Linked DNA regions of Homo sapiens: all the other regions are linked to region 2. The links are contacts of gene promoters, found by promoter capture Hi-C in blood cells and fetal thymus (Javierre and others, 2016). All regions are on one chromosome and are shown on one strand. The core of a region is centred on a gene start or on the middle of the fragment in contact, and the rest is flanking DNA. Distances in the headings are between cores, read along the strand shown. Region 1 overlaps BAZ1B (bromodomain adjacent to zinc finger domain 1B). Region 2 holds the start of DNAJC30 (DnaJ heat shock protein family (Hsp40) member C30). Region 3 overlaps BAZ1B (bromodomain adjacent to zinc finger domain 1B). Region 4 overlaps BCL7B (BAF chromatin remodeling complex subunit BCL7B). Region 5 overlaps BAZ1B (bromodomain adjacent to zinc finger domain 1B). Region 6 overlaps BAZ1B (bromodomain adjacent to zinc finger domain 1B).

What was found. The method cuts DNA at HindIII sites, captures the fragments that hold promoters and counts their contacts. A CHiCAGO score of 5 or more calls a contact.
Region 1: a contact is called between a fragment that was not itself captured here and the fragment with the promoter of DNAJC30 in region 2, in 10 of 17 cell types (naive CD4 T cells, monocytes, total CD8 T cells and 7 more). The highest score is 9.7, in naive CD4 T cells.
Region 3: a contact is called between a fragment that was not itself captured here and the fragment with the promoter of DNAJC30 in region 2, in 5 of 17 cell types (total CD8 T cells, activated CD4 T cells, erythroblasts and 2 more). The highest score is 6.5, in total CD8 T cells.
Region 4: a fragment that was not itself captured here is called in contact with the fragment with the promoter of DNAJC30 in region 2 in 11 of 17 cell types (naive CD4 T cells, total CD8 T cells, total CD4 T cells and 8 more); the score reaches 8.9 in naive CD4 T cells.
Region 5: a fragment that was not itself captured here is called in contact with the fragment with the promoter of DNAJC30 in region 2 in 2 of 17 cell types (M0 macrophages and naive CD8 T cells); the score reaches 6.7 in M0 macrophages.
Region 6: a contact is called between a fragment that was not itself captured here and the fragment with the promoter of DNAJC30 in region 2, in 6 of 17 cell types (naive CD8 T cells, activated CD4 T cells, neutrophils and 3 more). The highest score is 7.8, in naive CD8 T cells.

Annotation. Positions count from the first base shown.
Region 1 is chr7:73,486,369-73,489,068 of GRCh38, forward strand. All of the region lies in intron 6 of BAZ1B (bromodomain adjacent to zinc finger domain 1B), which reads right to left. Among named protein-coding and RNA genes, the nearest start is that of BAZ1B, 35 kb to the right of the region's middle. The HindIII fragment of the contact is 1,059 bases long and covers 833-1,891 here.
Region 2 is chr7:73,682,152-73,684,851 of GRCh38, forward strand. It overlaps DNAJC30 (DnaJ heat shock protein family (Hsp40) member C30), which reads right to left and starts at 1,302. Exons shown (of 1, transcript NM_032317.3): 1 at 1-1,302. The coding sequence starts at 1,272. The coding sequence ends at 592. BUD23 (BUD23 rRNA methyltransferase and ribosome maturation factor) reads left to right here and starts at 1,446. Exons shown (of 12, transcript NM_017528.5): 1 at 1,446-1,522; 2 at 1,616-1,653. The coding sequence starts at 1,475. RefSeq lists enhancers at 724-813, 1,054-1,223, 2,154-2,700. The HindIII fragment of the contact is 21,940 bases long and covers 1-2,700 here.
Region 3 is chr7:73,446,947-73,449,646 of GRCh38, forward strand. BAZ1B (bromodomain adjacent to zinc finger domain 1B) reads right to left here. Exons shown (of 20, transcript NM_032408.4): 15 at 2,596-2,700; 16 at 318-433. Among named protein-coding and RNA genes, the nearest start is that of FZD9, 15 kb to the left of the region's middle. The HindIII fragment of the contact is 2,262 bases long and covers 270-2,531 here.
Region 4 is chr7:73,541,484-73,544,183 of GRCh38, forward strand. BCL7B (BAF chromatin remodeling complex subunit BCL7B) reads right to left here. Exons shown (of 6, transcript NM_001707.4): 3 at 2,065-2,161. Among named protein-coding and RNA genes, the nearest start is that of BCL7B, 15 kb to the right of the region's middle. The HindIII fragment of the contact is 204 bases long and covers 1,265-1,468 here.
Region 5 is chr7:73,464,502-73,467,201 of GRCh38, forward strand. BAZ1B (bromodomain adjacent to zinc finger domain 1B) reads right to left here. Exons shown (of 20, transcript NM_032408.4): 10 at 1,795-1,900; 11 at 938-1,036. Among named protein-coding and RNA genes, the nearest start is that of FZD9, 32 kb to the left of the region's middle. The HindIII fragment of the contact is 4,496 bases long and covers 1-2,700 here.
Region 6 is chr7:73,508,911-73,511,610 of GRCh38, forward strand. BAZ1B (bromodomain adjacent to zinc finger domain 1B) reads right to left here. Exons shown (of 20, transcript NM_032408.4): 2 at 1,826-1,942. Among named protein-coding and RNA genes, the nearest start is that of BAZ1B, 12 kb to the right of the region's middle. The HindIII fragment of the contact is 3,762 bases long and covers 1-2,700 here.

The sequences.
Region 1 (2,700 bases), core at 112-2,611, 200 kb before region 2:
CAGGCTGGAGTGCAGTGGCGTGATCTCGGCTCACTACAAGCTCAGCCTCCCAGGTTCATGCCATTCTCCTGCCTCAGCCTCCCGAGTAGCTGGGACTACAGGTGCCCGCCACCACGCCCGGCTAATTTTTTGTATTTTTAGTAGAGACGGGGTTTCACCATGTCAGCCAGGATGGTCTCGATCTCCTGACCTCGTGATCCGCCCAACTCGGCCTCCCAAAGTGCTAGGATTACAGGCGTGAGCCACTGCGCCTGGCCTGCTAAAACTATTGCTCAGAACTCACTCTCTTTACACCTGGTCTCACTCTACAGTAAATGTACTCAGAGCCTGACAGAACATTACATTCTACAAAAACCAAAGAGTATACAGAGAGAGAAAACATCCCATGCCTTTGGATGGATGGGTCCTATGTGATCAACTTTAATCCTCAACAGATTATTTTAAATTTCTTCTAGAAAAAGAAAGAAAACAAAGCAATGTTTTAGGTTCTACTTATCATCTGTGTTACTATGTTTTGCCCTGGCTGAGAAGCCAAAGTCCTAATTTTATAAATAGGAAAAACACAGCTTATATACAGAAAACAATCAGTGACATGTCAGATAGTATTAGGAAATAAGAAATTATTGTTTAAGGTAGGGAAAACAAATAATAAACCTGAGTATATGCCTTTAACTTTGTAGACCAGTATTTTACATGAGTCTTAAGTTTTCTGAGTAAAATCACTGCCATCTTCCAGCACTTTAAGCAAGCTTCCATTTCCTAGTCTTAACCTAAATTATAGCCAAATTTCATAACATTAGTAAGTTAAGCCCCCACTAGAAATTCTGGGAGAAGCTTATTTCTTCAGAAATTGCCTTTCAGGTTTTAAGTTCCTGGAGTTCTAGTCTCTCTCTCCTACAAAAATTGTGGATCAGCTGGGCGTGGTGGTACGTGCCTGTAGTCCCCAGCTACTAGTGAGACACAGGGAGGAGGATCACTTGAGCCCAGAAATTTCAGGCTGCAGTGAACTGTGATTGTCCCACTGCACTCCAGCCTGGGTAACAGAGCAAGACCCTGTCTCTAAAGTAAGAAATAAGTGTGGATCAGCTTTTATGTCTTAGGAAACTCAAAAAATATTTTACCCATAAAAAGAGTCTTTCACATTATTCACATACTTGAATCACTAAACTAAAATACATAAAACAGAGCTGTAAGATTAGAAAAGAGGAAAATATTAAGGACTCAAGTAATCCAAGAATTAGTCTAAAACCCATTTAGAGATGGTTTCATGGAGTTCTCATATAGCGAAGATAGGAATCTCATGTGAAGACCACAGAAAGCTGAATCATGGTTCCAAACTCTGTGGCAACAAAATGACAGTGAACTCAAAATTTCTCCTCAACAAACAAAAACAAACATCTGAGAAAAAAATTATAGTTCCATGGAAAATTTAGTCCTGATCTAGAAAAAGCCAATTACTTTCTAAATTTTTCCTTTTAAGCAAATAATAATAATTTAAAGAGCATAACAGAAGACACCACTTATCTTGCTGGTCTAGAATAAGAAAATCTGCTAAGTGCTAAAACCATGACTGGAGGTCTTTACTAATGTTTTGGAGAAATAAAATTACTTTTCAATATGCTTTTGTCACCATAATCAACTTAAGATAATTGAACAAATTTAGTTGTTATGACTTCAGATGTCTTTATATTTTCATAATTAAATGAAATGGGAAAAAAAGAAATCCTGGAAATGTGACCTAGTTTTAATGGATCAAGAGCCCTTTTCTGGTTCTACGCTGGCCCAGAGACCAAGATGAAAATTATCAGCCAGTATGCTGCGTTACATTTACCAATGAAAGAAGCATTAAGTACTTTCAAAACCTACATTAAAAAACCACTTTAACAGGTAAAGCTTGAAATGGAAAAGAAAATCAGAAATCCTAGGCCAGTGTCTTAAGTCTTGTCATCACTTTCTGTTGGTTCTGATTAGACTAGGCCTCAGATACCCCATCTGTAAAATGAAATATATATATGTACCATATAACTTCATAAAAATATTTGGAAAATCAAAAGTGAGGATTTTAAAAATTACTCCTTCTCGGCCAGGCATGGTGGCTCACATCTGTAATCCCAGCACTTTGGGAGGCCGAGGCAGGCGGATCACTTGAGGTCAGGAGCTCAAGACTAGCCTGGCCAACACGGCAAAACCCCATCTCTACTAAAAATAGAAAAATTAGCCAGGTGTGGTGGCACATGCCTGTAATCCCAGCTACTCAGGAGGCTGAGAAGAAGGAGAAGGAGGTTGCAGTGAGCCGAGATCGCACTACTGCACTCCAGCCTGGGTGACAGAGCGAGACTCCAACTCAAAAAAAAAAAAAAAACAAAAAAAACTTACTCTTCAAGAGGAAAATACTAGGTTTTCCACTAATCTATCACACACACTGCTCCTCATTCCAGGTTCTTTTCAAGGCTGCCACTGTATGTGATCATCTTGTCCGACATGCAAAATCAGTTTTCATTCTTGGTAACTGGTTAACAAAATACTTTTTATATTTATACCATACCTCATTCCAAAAAGGGTCTGAGGCACAAAAGCACATGTATATAGACTTTTAAAATTATGCTAGCATAATAAAAAATAAATTGAACTGGGGAAGATATTAAATGTGGCCTCTCCCCTACCAACCTCACATAACAACCTGTATGTAACAGATATACC
Region 2 (2,700 bases), core at 52-2,551:
TAAGGAGGAGTGCCCCAGGGGGCTGACCTTAGCGGGAGGAACGACAGGCTCTCCACCGATCCCATTCTTACCCTGGACCAGGTCTCACCTGCGGCTTGGGGAAGTCACAGAAAGACAAGTTTCGTACAACCCCAGACCTTTTCTTTTGGTAGTCAACAATTGGTCACATTGCACATTTCAAGGTTACAGAGGCCCACCATACACATGCGGGGCAGGAGGAGATAAATCTTGCTTGGGGCTAAACAATAAAGCTACAGCGAGTGTTCCAGAAGTTGACCACATCTGGAAGCAAGAAGACAGACTCTGGAAGAAGCACCCTAGAGACTCCAGGAACCCCCTTCACTCCTGGGCTTTCGGGACTCTACAGCGTGGGGCCTCTTTCTCAGACATCGAAAGGCCTCCTTTTCTGGACCACAGTGGAGCGATGTGCAGGTCATCGGCTAAGCTGGGCGGGTCGGGGAGGGCAGGGGGAGTACAGTTCCTTCGGATCCCAGCAAAGGTAGACTATCAATGGCCAAGGGTTCAGAGGCAGGAAAAAAGGCCGTTTCTGGGGGGTTGGCTGGGGACACTCCCCTTCCCTTCTCTCTCCGATTAAATATAAAAGCCGATGATGATGAAGATTGAAAAGATGAGGAAAATGGCAGCCGTGTCTCGGGTATCCTCCCAGCGGAGGCCTTTCATGGACCGATACTCCTGCCGTTTGCGAAGGGCCTCCCGCCGGGCCCTCAGGCGCCGTTCCCGCTCCAGTTGTTCCCCGTAGTGGGCCTGGTAGAAGGCGTCAAAGTTGAACATCGTGCGGTTGGCGCCGGGGGAGGCCCGAGAACCGTCGTGGGTCCGAGAGGTGGGCGGCGGGGTACGCGGCGAGCCGGGGTCGGGTGCGGGCGTCCTGGAGGGCCGGACGCCAGGTCCGCGCAGGTCCTCGTCGCTGAGTAGGCCGCGATCATACTTGCGACGGAGGGTGGCACTGCCCAGCACCACGTAGGCCTGGGAGATGCGCGTGAAGCGCTCGGCGGCCTCCGCGCTCCCGGAGTTGCGGTCCGGGTGGTAGAGAAAGCACTGACGGTAGTAAGCCGCCTTGATTTGGGCCTGCGTGGCTGTGGAGGGGACGCCGAGCAGATCATACAGCGCCGTGCGCGAATACGAGCAGTCGCCCTGGGAATAAGTCCTCGCTCCTAGGCCCAGGCTGGGTGCAGAATTTTGTGGAAAGCCACGGGCCTGCAGCAACCTCCAAGGTAACAGCCGCTGCCACCATCGCCAGCGCATGGCTGCCATGTTGAATTGATTCGGCAGGCGGTGCAAGAGAAACCGGCCAATGAGAGGAGTCGGTTGGTCGCCCTGTGGCCAGTCACGTAAAGGGGGGGGCGGGGCGGTCGTGGGGGTGGAACATGCGTATTACTAAGCGGTCGCCGGGCTGATGACATAAAAACCGGGTGCCGGCAGGCGCCAGTCGCAGGTGTGCTGCTGAGGCGTGAGAATGGCGTCCCGCGGCCGGCGTCCGGAGCATGGCGGACCCCCAGAGCTGGTAAGTCCCGGGGCCCGCGGACACCCCTCTCCCCACTTCTGCGGCCACCGCGTCTGAATTATTCCTCTACATGCCATTTTCTCTTTTTCGCAGTTTTATGACGAGACAGAAGCCCGGAAATACGTTCGCAAGTGAGGGGAGCCTGAATACTGCGGGGCGTCCGGGGGTCGGGAAGCGGCAAGTTGCCCCTGTTGCTGGCGTTGCCCGGAAAGGCCGTAGAATTTGGGGGTGCGGGAAGGGAAGGACCCGGGTGGGTGCCGATTTCTGTCTCTGGTAAATCAACTTTAAGTTGCCGACCTCTCTGGGCCTCGGTACCTCAGCGTTGAGGTAGGGGTGATCGCGCTTGCTTTCCGTGGGTGGTTTTCAAAGTCGAATGTGACAATTTGTCCTAAACATGTGGTAAAAGAGGCGCTGGGCGGTGGGTACGGGCGAGGGGTCAGTCCTGGTGGGGGGAAGGAAGTAATGGCCGTAGGATGCTTATCGTGGCGCCTTGTTGCCAATAAATCTCCAAGACAGCAGTTGGTGTATTATTGTCTGAATTTCATAGAGGGTAGTTTGTATAACTACTGAGTTGTAGCCAGGTGGGAGTGGCTCACGCGTGTAATCTCAGCAATCGCAGCACTTTGGGAGGCTGAGGCGGGAGGATCGCTTGAGCTCAGGGGTTCGAGACCAGCCTGGGCAACGTAGCGAGCCCCCGTCTCCGCAAGTAATAAAAAAATTAGCCGGGTGTGGTGGCTCCCCTCTGCCTCTCCAGTAGTTGGGACCACAGGCGCGCGCCACTACGCCTGGCTTTTTTTTGTAAATTTTTGTTGCGATGGGGTCTCGCTGTGTTGCCCAAGGTGGCCCAAGCCCAGGGCTCAAGCGATCCTCCCGCCTTCGTCTCCCGAACTGTTGGGATTGCAGGCGTGAGCCAGCGCACCTCGAGTCGTTAAAAAAAAAAAAAAGGGGGGGGGATGGGGGCGGGGGGAAGCTGGCGCGGTGTCTCACGCCTGTAATCGCAACACTTTGGGAGGCTGAGGCAGACGGATCACCTGAGGTCAGGAGTTCGAGACCAGCCTGGCCAACATGGCGAAACTCCAGCTCTACTAAAAATGGAAAAAATTAGCCGGGCGCGATGGCGGGTTTCTGTAACCCCAGCTACTCGGGAGGCTGAGGCAGGAGAATAGCTTGAACCCGGG
Region 3 (2,700 bases), core at 151-2,650, 240 kb before region 2:
TTGTCCCCATATGCCGAGGAGCTGAGAATCAGCAGCCTTGGCATAAATATACTTGGGACCATGAATTCTACTAAATCTTAGAGCAAGTGGGTTGATGTTACTGAGATCAAGCCACCTTCTCTCCCACCAGGCAGGAAGTTAAACGCCATCTTGGAAACCCATTTAAACCCATGGCAGCTAAGTTACGCCACAGTCACAACACAAGAGAAAAGGAATAGGGCAAGCCGGCCACACTACCTACTGCCAAGCCAGCCTTTCCAAGCGTTCCAAGCTTAGAAGACTGTGAAATCAACTACAAAGGCAGACAAAATACTTACATCGCAAACCAGCCACCTCATAATCTTCTTCCTCCTCCTCCTCTTCTTCCTCCTCCTCCTCTTCATCACTCTCATCATCTTCACTGTCCTCAGAAGCAGACTCTTCAGTATAGTTCCTGTGGGTAGAAAAAATAATGTAGGGAACACAGTTTTAGCCCAAAGTGGTCCTAAGAAGGGCTCAAATCCCACAGGGATCAGGAAACTTCTCTTCACAGACTACATATGTATAACGTATGATAATTCAGGGAGGGAACCTGAATGTAAGCCAGGAGAGTTTTTCATAAAAATGAAAAACCAAGTTTCAACAGCATGCCTCATGCCTCCTTCTGCCAGGCCACAGACAGTTTGGACAAGATACCAAAGGCAACAGAAATTAAGACCAAAATGCAATCCTACCCTTCCCCACACAAAGCAATACAAAACACTGTTTCTTTTGTCTCACAAAAAGAGCCAGATAATGTAATACATCAGTTACTAAAAGCTGTCCCCACCTCTGAGGTAGACTGAAAAGAATAAACAGAGCCCAGACAGGTGTGACTTCACCTTGATGGCCCCCTTCCAGGAGCTGAAACAGCTTGCAGATGACCATAATATCAAAGCAGTGGTAATCCCAGCTCGGAACAGCTGGTCCAAAGCCCCACCATTTCAGAGCAACATGTCTCATCTCTAAGTGCAGCTGGGATGGAGTGCAAAAGAACCTGCTAATACTGTTAAGGTGGGGTCAGGATCAAACAGCTCTGCCCCTTAGAAGGAAGCCCAGGCCGGGCACCGTGGCTCACGCCTGTAATCCCAGCACTTTGGGAGGCTGAGGCAGGCGGATCACCTAAGGTCGGGAGTTCGAGACTAGCCTGACCAACATGGAGAAACCCCATCTCTACTAAAAATACAAAATGAGCTGGGTGTGGTGGCGCATGCTTGTAGTCCTAGCTACTCGGGAGGCTGAGGCAGCAGAATCGCTTGAACCTGGGAGGTGGAAGTTACAGTGAGCCGAGATCGCGCCATCGTACTCCAGCCTGGGCAACAAGAGCGAAACTCCGTCTCAAAAAAGAAGCCCAAGCCAGAGTACCTATAAGCTGCACATTTTACAACCCCAAATTTCAGTGTGGAAAACAACAGTATTATCTTGGCAAGTACAAGGTGTCTCCTCTTTACAAGGCCCGGTATTTGGCCTTATTGAGATTCAAGTAAAAAAACAAAGCACCACCTCTACTCTCAGGGCATTCATAATCTCATGGGAGACAGACATGTATAAAACCAGAGACAAGATCCATGCACCAAAATACTACTTCAGAGAATGGAGGTTCAGCTGAACACAGAGGAGAAACCATGAAGCCTAAGGATGCAAGCACTTTTCAAAAGCGCAGTGAAATTTTAGCGAAGCCATGGGCAGTTTACCCACTGGGAATTCTGGGCAGAGAATGTTCCCAGCTGGGAGAAAGGCACAAGAGGCAAGGATGAACAACAAACGGTCTGTAACAAGTACACAAATATGGGATCTAAAGCTAATAAAAACCCAAGCTGGTATTGTGTAAGAGTCTCAGAAGTGAGGCCAGGAATTGGGATGTTATTCTAGAGGCAATGGGAAGACTAGAAGTTTGTGATCAGGAATGTGAGCAGATCTTTGCTTTGTGTACAGCATTCTGGTGTTGCAATAGTTGGGTGGATAAGAGGGGAGAAGACGTGATATAAGAAAGAGGAGTTGAGAAGCCACCAAAGGAGCCCAGGTGACAGATGTAGAAGGGACAAATGATAGCGGAGACCACGGAGAATGGAGAGCAAGAAACTGGATCATCAAACATCTGGGCATTGGATTGATATCATGGCAAATTAATGGGTTTGTAGGATGAGGGAGAGATGTTCATTTCCAAGTTGACACCCAAGTTCTACTCATGATAGGGAAGAAAACATTATGTATCGGTAAGGAAGGTAATGAGTGTGAGATTTTTAGCAGTGGGTGATAGCAGAAGTAATCATGAAGACACAGGAAGTGGGCAACAGGAGGCTAAAGGCAGAGAGAGAGATTTCATTACTTGAGAAGAAGGTATGATCAAGAAGACAGAGAATGTGGCTGGCAGTGAAAACTAGAAATGTCAACATTCAGCTAAAATTAGCTCAGAGTCCTTTGAGCTCCTATTGAAGTACTGTAAATGATCAGGCTCTGTACCCAAAAGATGAACTTAAAGCTCCTTAGATTCATTCTGTTTGAATAACTCAAGCTTAATTATAACAGCTATTCATATTTATTCATTCAATTATTTTTAAAAGAAAAGATTCTCACCTGCCACGGGAGTTGCGCCTGGCAGTAGCGGGCTGGCAAGCTGGGCACTGCCACTCACCATCTGGTACTTCATAGAGGGCCGGCCTCAGACAAAACAGGTGGAAG
Region 4 (2,700 bases), core at 117-2,616, 140 kb before region 2:
TGAGACCGAGTTTCGCTCTTGTTGCCCAGGCTGGAGTGCAATGGTGCTATCTCAGCTCACCACAACCTCTGCCTCCTGGGTTCAACTGATTCTCCTGCCTCAGCCTCTTGAGTAGCTGGGATTACAGGCTTGCGCCACCACGCCTGGGTAATTTTGTATTTTTATTAGAGACGGGGTTTCACCATGTTGGTCAGGCTGGTCTCGAACTCCTGACCTCAGGTAATCCACCTGCCTCAGCCTCCCAAAGTGCTGGGATTACAGGCATGAGCCACCACGCCCAGCCATACCCAGTACTTCTTAGGAGAGGCAGGAGCTGGCCTTATCGCAACATAGGAAGTCCTTTCTGATCTCTGGCCTCAGTGCCTACTGTTCTCCTACAAGCATCCTCAGCTCCAGGCAGACTGGACCCTAACCCAAGAGCTTCGTCATGCATGGGTGCTTCTGCCCAGCTGTTCCTTGGCTAGGCTGCCTTCTCTTGTCCTGGAAAGCCTCAGACCTCCCAACACAGCCCCGACATCACTTCTTCCGCGGAGCCCTACCTCCCTGGCTCGCATAGGTGGAAATGCCCACCCTCTCTTACTCTCCTGTGATAGCCTGTGCACGCCTGCATTTATCATTTCGCACACGTGCTTCCTCCCATGAGCCTCTGTGGACAGGCTCTGTGGCTCACTTGTCCTTGACTCCCCAGTGCAACGCACGGTACCTGCATACAGTGGGAGTTCATTAAGTGTTTACTAAATGAAAAGGAGGAGATGGTGGCCAGACTGAGGAAATGGAGCCTCATATGTCTCCCAGAGCCTTCTGACTACTGAACACACGTTGGTGTTCCCTTTCCAACAGCACATGGTTGACCTTGGTGGGGCCTGGGAAAGAGGTGGGGAAGGAATAACTACACGCTGGGTTAGCTCCAATCTGGTTTTGAAGAGAAAGTCATAAACTCATGCTAGTCTTGACTCCTATAAAGACCTTTAATACCCACACTAAAATGGAAGTAGCATTTTGTCACCAAATGAATAAAACTGTCACTTTTGAGCTTAGACAAAACACTGTTCCTCCCTGAGCATCAGTTTCCTTAAATAGGGATGATAATAACTGCCTGGTTTATATCACAGGCTGATACATGGGTAAAAATGAGAAAGTAAAGTAAAAGTGCTTCGTAGACAGTACCTAGCAGGTAGGTGTAAAAGGCAGTATCATGACTACGGTGATGATCCGGCGGGATTGGTTTAGGAGGCAGAACATGTCCTAACAGTGGGTAAGCAGAAGCTTCGGCTTTGGGTAGCCTACTCTAAGCGACTATGATAAAACATACAGTCTAGGCCAGGTGCAGTGGCTCATGCTTGTACCTTGGGAGGTCAAGGCTGGGGGACTGCTTGAGGCCAGGAGTTCACAACCAGCCTGGACAACATAGCCAGACTCTGTCTCTACAAAAAATAAAAAATAAAAAATGAAGTACAATCTAAAAAAAAGCTTCTGATTCGGACAACCAGGACCTGACATGGAGTCTGTCACTTACAAGTTATGTAACTTTAGACACGTAACTTAACCTCTCTGAGCCTCAGTTTCCTTAACTGGAAAATGAGAATACCATTACCTATCTTGCAGAGTTATCGTGAAGTTTAAATGAAAAGATTTAGGTCAAGTGCCTCGCAAAATACCAGCGAAACAGCAGGCACTGAATTGATACACAGAATTCTTTTTTTTTTTTTTTGAGACGGAGTCTCACTCTGCAGCCCAGGCTGGAGTGCAGTGGCGCAATCTCGGCTCACCGCAACCTCCACCTCCTGGGTTTAAGCGATTCTCCTGTCTCAGACCCCCGAGTAGCTGGGATTACAGGCACGCGCCACCACGCTCAGCTAACTTTTTGTATTTTTAGTAGAGACTGGGTTTCACCATATTGGCCAGGCTCGTCTTGAACTCCTGACCTCAGGTGATCTGCCCGCCTCAGACTCCCAAAGTGCTGAGGTTACAGGTGTGAGTCACTGCACCTGGCCAATTCTTCTTATTAATGCATTCATCCAAGTTTTCATTCTCCTGCAAGGAAGACACAGAGATGCAACTCACCCTGGAATTCAAGAAGGAGAGAGGAATTGGCTGAGGCATCAGAAGGAAAGCCATTAGGTTCTCGGGCTGCTGAACTGTTCGATTTTGACTTTTCTTTCTAGAAAAGGAAAAAAAGAGGAATATGACAGAGCCAAGCAGGAGACTCACAGAGAGGGAGGAGGGTGCTATGTGACAGACCACAGAGGTCTGGATTAGGACTGAACAGGAAAAACGACAGCAGCGTGAGAATCCAAGGACCCAAGGAAGAACAGAATCCTGGACAAGCAACTTCTCCTCAAGCCTCAGAAAAATGAACCCTTCCAGCAGGAATACTGTGAATCATAAGCAACAGGCAGATACATACACTTCGACTAGAACATCCCATAGTATCCCTCTCCTGCCCTGATCAAATTGCGCCAGGCAACCCTTCTCTATACGAATGGGCAAGAAATACAAAACACTCATTTGAGAAAGATTCCTGTTTCAGTAGCAGAGTGGGGAAAAAGTGAGAGAAGAAGGAACCTCATGTAACACAGACAGTGACAGGACAAATGGGCCCAGGCTGGCTCTATTCCTGATCCGTCATCCTCATCCATTCAAAACGACCACCCCAGCCGGGCGCACTGGTTCACGCCTGTAATCCCAGCACTTTGGGAG
Region 5 (2,700 bases), core at 49-2,548, 220 kb before region 2:
CCTATCCTCTGGCAACCACTAATCCACTTTCTGTTTGAAATAGATTTGCCTATTCTAAGATGTTTCATTTGAATGGAATCATACACCACATGGCCTTTGATGTCTGACTTCTTTTGCTTAGCATGTTTTCTAGGTTCATTCATGTTGTAGCACAGAACAGTACTTCATTTCTTTTTGTGGCTAAATAATATTCCACTATTTGAATATACTAAATTTTGGGGGTTTTTTGTTTCATTTTGTATGAGACAGCATCTCGCTCTCTCACCCAGGCCAGAGTGCAGGGGCATGATCTTGGCTCAATGCAACCTCCGCCTCCTGGGCTCAAGTGATCAACTCAGCTCAGCCTCCCAAGTAGCTAAGACTACATACACAAACCACCACACCCAAGATAATTTTTGTTTTGTTTTTTTTTTTCAGAAACGGAGTTTCCCTATGTTGCCCAGGCTGGTCTCAAAACTCCTGGATGCAAGACACTGGCCTGCCTTTACCTCTCAAAGTGCCGGGATTACAGGTGTGAGCCACCGCACAAGGCCTGGATATATACTAACTTTTATTTATCCGTTCCATCAGTTGATAGTCATTGCCGTTGTTTCCACCTTTTGGCTCTTCTGAATATTGATAGAATACTTCTGGACACCCACCCATCTGGGCCTCCATCTGCAAAGCTGTCTGACAACCATGAGGCTCACAGCTTGGTGCTGGCAACTGTTCTTTAGTGCATAATAATCCTGCTACTCTATATATAGATGGCCAAAGGTATATTTTTCCAATAAGCATAATATGCCAAGAAAATACCAGGCAATATGAACACAAAACGGTTACACATTTAAAATATTTTACTTTAGTAACTTAAATGGATAAGAAAAAAAACCCTCAGATATTTATATCCAATGCTAAAGAGAAGTAAGATGTGAGGAGTAAGATGAAAACCTCTTACCTCTTCTCTAGTCTCTCTTTAAGTTGACTTTCTCTTATTCCCTGAGGGTGAAGACAGTTTAGCAACTCATCCAGCTCCTTTTGACTATCACATAAAAACCTGTAGGGGCAAAAGAGACCTGATAACTCTGAAAAAAAAAAAAAAATTCAAAATCAAACACTAAGCAAGGGATCTAGAGTTGGTGGTGGGACTTGGGAGAACAGAATTCCAAATGTGTTCACAATCTACTATCTAGAAGTAGAATAAGTAATTTACTATTTTCATGATGCCTAATGTTAATTCTGTACTAGGACACCAGAGCCAATATGGTTCCTATTAAAATATTATATGAAATTTTATAAAGTTAATTGGCATACTTGTCCCTTTCCCTCCAGAGAGTAAACCTATACCCAAAATTCAAAAATGAAAGGTCATTAAATCACAGGTGATCACAGTTAAAGCCGTAGAATGGATCCTCTAAAACCTAGCTCGCTGCCTAAAAGCAGAAATGCGCATAAAGGAAACGAATAGCTATGCATACAATTTGTTAATTAATAAAATTTAAGGAAAATCTTAAATACTTCTATTCCCAACCAAATTTAAGCTACATTTCTACTGCTATATAAGATCTATCACATAATATACAAAGTTATATTACAGGGGGGAAAAAATCAAAATTCCAACCCTTAAAAAAACAAGTATCTTCTTAACAAAAAATCAGGTCTGCTAATGCAAGAAGTTTTGATATCCAAAATATCAGTCACACAAAGTATCCTGCGCAAATAATTATTAACTCACTGGCATCACTATACTAAATACTTTCTTCCTTAACAATTAAAAGGAAAAAGAAAGAGCAACCAGATGAATGCTCACATTACCATAGGTTCTGTCCTTGTTTGGGTGTGGTTGTCTCTACAGCAACTTCTGTTGCTGTTCCATGTTGTGTGTTCATGCTTGCATTTTTACCTAAGTTTGCTTTCTTACCTAAGAAAAATTGAGACATTAGGTTGACTTTAGTAAATACCCAATTGCTAGTTTCAAATCTAAGCAGTACACAGTGCCAAACTCAACAATTTGTAACAACACAGATACTTCCTGTGAAATATATCAAATATATCTTCATGTATAAAAGATGCTAATTTCTCTTAAATATCTTAAACACAGCATGTTATCTCAGATATTTGCTCTCTGAAGTGGAATCGTTACACAGTTCCAAAGTTTAGGGGTACTGCAACTTAGAATGAAGAATGACTAAATATCTTTATATCAAAGCAAAATAAAGAATTTACTCCTTTTACATGATGTTAAGAGCAAAGGCATCTGTAGTGAAGCAGAGGTAATGAGAACATATAAATACTATAGACTTATCCTTGGAGGCTTCAAGTGTCAAATAATACAACTAACTTTTTTGTAAATCAGTTCCTATATACTGATACGTGACTTTAACATAGATATATCTTGAGCCAATTTATCAAAGCCTATCTTAGATCATCACAATATTTGGTTTTTTGTTTTGTTTCGTTTTGTTTTTTGAGATAGAGTCTCGCTCTGTCGCCCAGGCTGGAGTGCAGTGGTACAATCTCAGCTCACTGAAACCTCTGCCTCCCAGGTTCATGCAATTCTCCCTGCCTCAGACTCCCGAGTGGCTGGGATTACAGGCACACACCAACACACCTGGCTAATTTTTCTATTTTTAGTAGAGATGGGGTTTCACCATGTTGGCCAGGCTGGTCTCCAACTCCTGACCTCAGGTGATCCGCCCGCCTTGGCCTCCCAAGTGCTGG
Region 6 (2,700 bases), core at 157-2,656, 170 kb before region 2:
GCTGAGGCAGGAGAATGGCATGAACCCAGGAAGCGGAGCTTACAGTGAGCCGAGATCGCACCACTGCACTCCAGCCTGGGCGACAGAGCGAGATTCCATCTCAAAAAAAAAAAAAAAGACTTAACTTTTGGCTGGGCGTGGTGGCTCACACCTGTAATCCTAGCACTTTGGGAGGCCAAGGCGGGCAGATCACCTGAGGTCAGGAGTTCAAGGCCAGCCTGGCCAACATGGCGAAACCCTGTCTCTACTCAAAATACAAGAATTAGCCGGGCGTGGTGGCACATGCCTGTAATCCCAGCTACTCGGGAGGCTGAGGCAGGAGAATCACTTGAACACGGGAAGCGAAGGTTGCAGTGAGCCAAGATCACACCATTGCACTCCAGCCTGGGCAACAGAGAGAGACTCAGTCTCAAAAAACAAACAAACAAAAAAAAACACTTAACATTTTACGAGTTTTAGGTTCACAGCAAAACAACACTGCTTTAGCAAATATACGTAAAGCACTGGGGAATACAAAGATTAAAAAAAAACATGCAGTTTGCTGGACACAGTGGGTCCCAGCACTTTGAAAGGCACAGGTGGGAGGATTGCTTGAGCCCAGGAGTTTGAGACCAGCCTGGCCAACAGAGTGAGAACCTGCCTCTATAAAAAACTAAAATAATTAGCTGGGTGAGGTGGCATGCACCTATAGTTCCAGCTACGTAAGAGGCTGAGGCAAGAGGCTGGCTTGATCCCAGGAGCTATGTGCATACCACTGCACTCCACCCTGGGCAACAGAGCGAAACTGTGCCTCTTAAAAAAAAGGAAACCAGGAAGCGTTAACATGTTGGAAACGTGACTTGAACACCAGAGCTGTTGCAAAAGGACAGCAATGATTTAACACTTTTCACTTATTAAACTAGCAAAAAAAAAAAAAAATTTAATTATCATACCCGGTTGGGTGCAGTGGTTCACGCCTGTAATCCCAGCACTTTGGGAGGCCGAAATGAGCAGGTCGCTTGAGGTCAGGAGTTCGAGACCAGCCTGGCTAACATGGTGAAACCCCATCTCTACTAAAAACACAAAAATTAGCCAGGCGTGGTGGTGAGCGCCTGTAGACCCAGCTACTCAGGAGGCTGAGGCACGAGAATCACTTGAACCCAGGAGATAGAGGTTACAGTGGGCCGAAATCGTGCCCCTGCATTCCAGCCTGGGCAACAGAGTGAGACTCCATCTCAAAAATAAAAATAAGAATAAGGGCCAGGCGCGGTAGCTCACGCCTGTAATCCCAGCACTTTGGGAGGCCAAGGCGGGAGGATCACGAGGTCAGGAGATTGAGACCATCCTGGCTAACATAGTGAAACCCCATCTCTACTAAAACTACAAAAAATTATCCGGGCTTGGTGGCGAGCACCTGTAGTCCCAGCTACTTGGGAGGCTGAGGCAGGAGAATCACTTGAACCCGGGAGGCGGAGCTTGCAGTGAGCCGAGATCGTGCCACTGCACTCCAGCCTGGGCGAGAGCGAGATTCCGTCTCAAAAAAAGAAAAAGCAAAAAAGAATAAACCACATTACCAGAGTACTTACAAGGTCAAAGTATGGAGCAGGAACACTCAAAGGCCTGGTAAATACCTAAACAAGTGCACCTATAACTAAATAAATATTCCATATTGCTACTGCAAAATGCCATTAGGCAAAGGAACCCAGAAACCCATACAGTACACTAATGTAATATAGTCTAATTTGTGCCCCATAAACTTAAATACACATACTGCTTTAGGGTTAATATTCCCTCCTTTCCTAACAATGTGAAGATGGTGGCAAAGAGCAATACTTCCATTACTTACAGCTCAGCAACTTCCTGTTCTTCCTCCCAGGCTTCCTTGTGTGTTAGCTGACTGCTTCCAGTACTCTTGCACGTCCAAATGCGCTCACTGTACCTTTCCAAGCGGGCTTCATACTCTCTGTTGGCAGTAGTTCAGGAAAACAATATGCAAGCAACAGAGACGACAAACCCATACCCATAAGATACTTATATACAGAAAAAAATCTAGTCTCCTTTTTAAAATGTGTAGCATGAGAGGATAAAAATGGAATTGGAGGCCGGGCGCAGTGGTTCACGCCTGTAATCCCAGCACTTTGGGAGGCCGAGGCGGGCGGATCACGAGGTCAGATCGAGACCAGCCTGGCTAACACGGTGAAACCCCGTGTCTACTAAAAATACAAAAAATTAGCTGTGAGTGGTTGTGGGCGCCTGTAGTCCCAGCTACTCAGGAGGCTGAGGCAGGAGAATGGCGTGAACCCGGGAGGCGGAGCTTGCAGTGAGCCAAGATCACGCCACTGCACTCAAGCCTGGGAGACAGTGCGGCTCCGTCTCAAAAACTAAAAAAAATAAAAAAAAATGAAAAAAATGGAATCAGGGCCCAAAGCAAGATGACTAAGACTGAAGTATAATGAGAATGGATTGTCATGGGCTGGGCACCTGCATGGGATTTACAGACTGGGATGATCACGTCTCTAATCTCAGCATTTTGAGAGGCCACGGCAGGACAATCACTTGAGACCAGGAGTTCGAGACCAGCCTGGGCAACATGATGAGACCTCATCTCTACAAAAAATAAAAATAAAAAATAATAAAAATGGTTTTTCGTGTTTTACAAAAAAAATTAATATTTTAGTACAAATGTGATTTCCTCAATTCACCAAAGTTTCATTACACAAG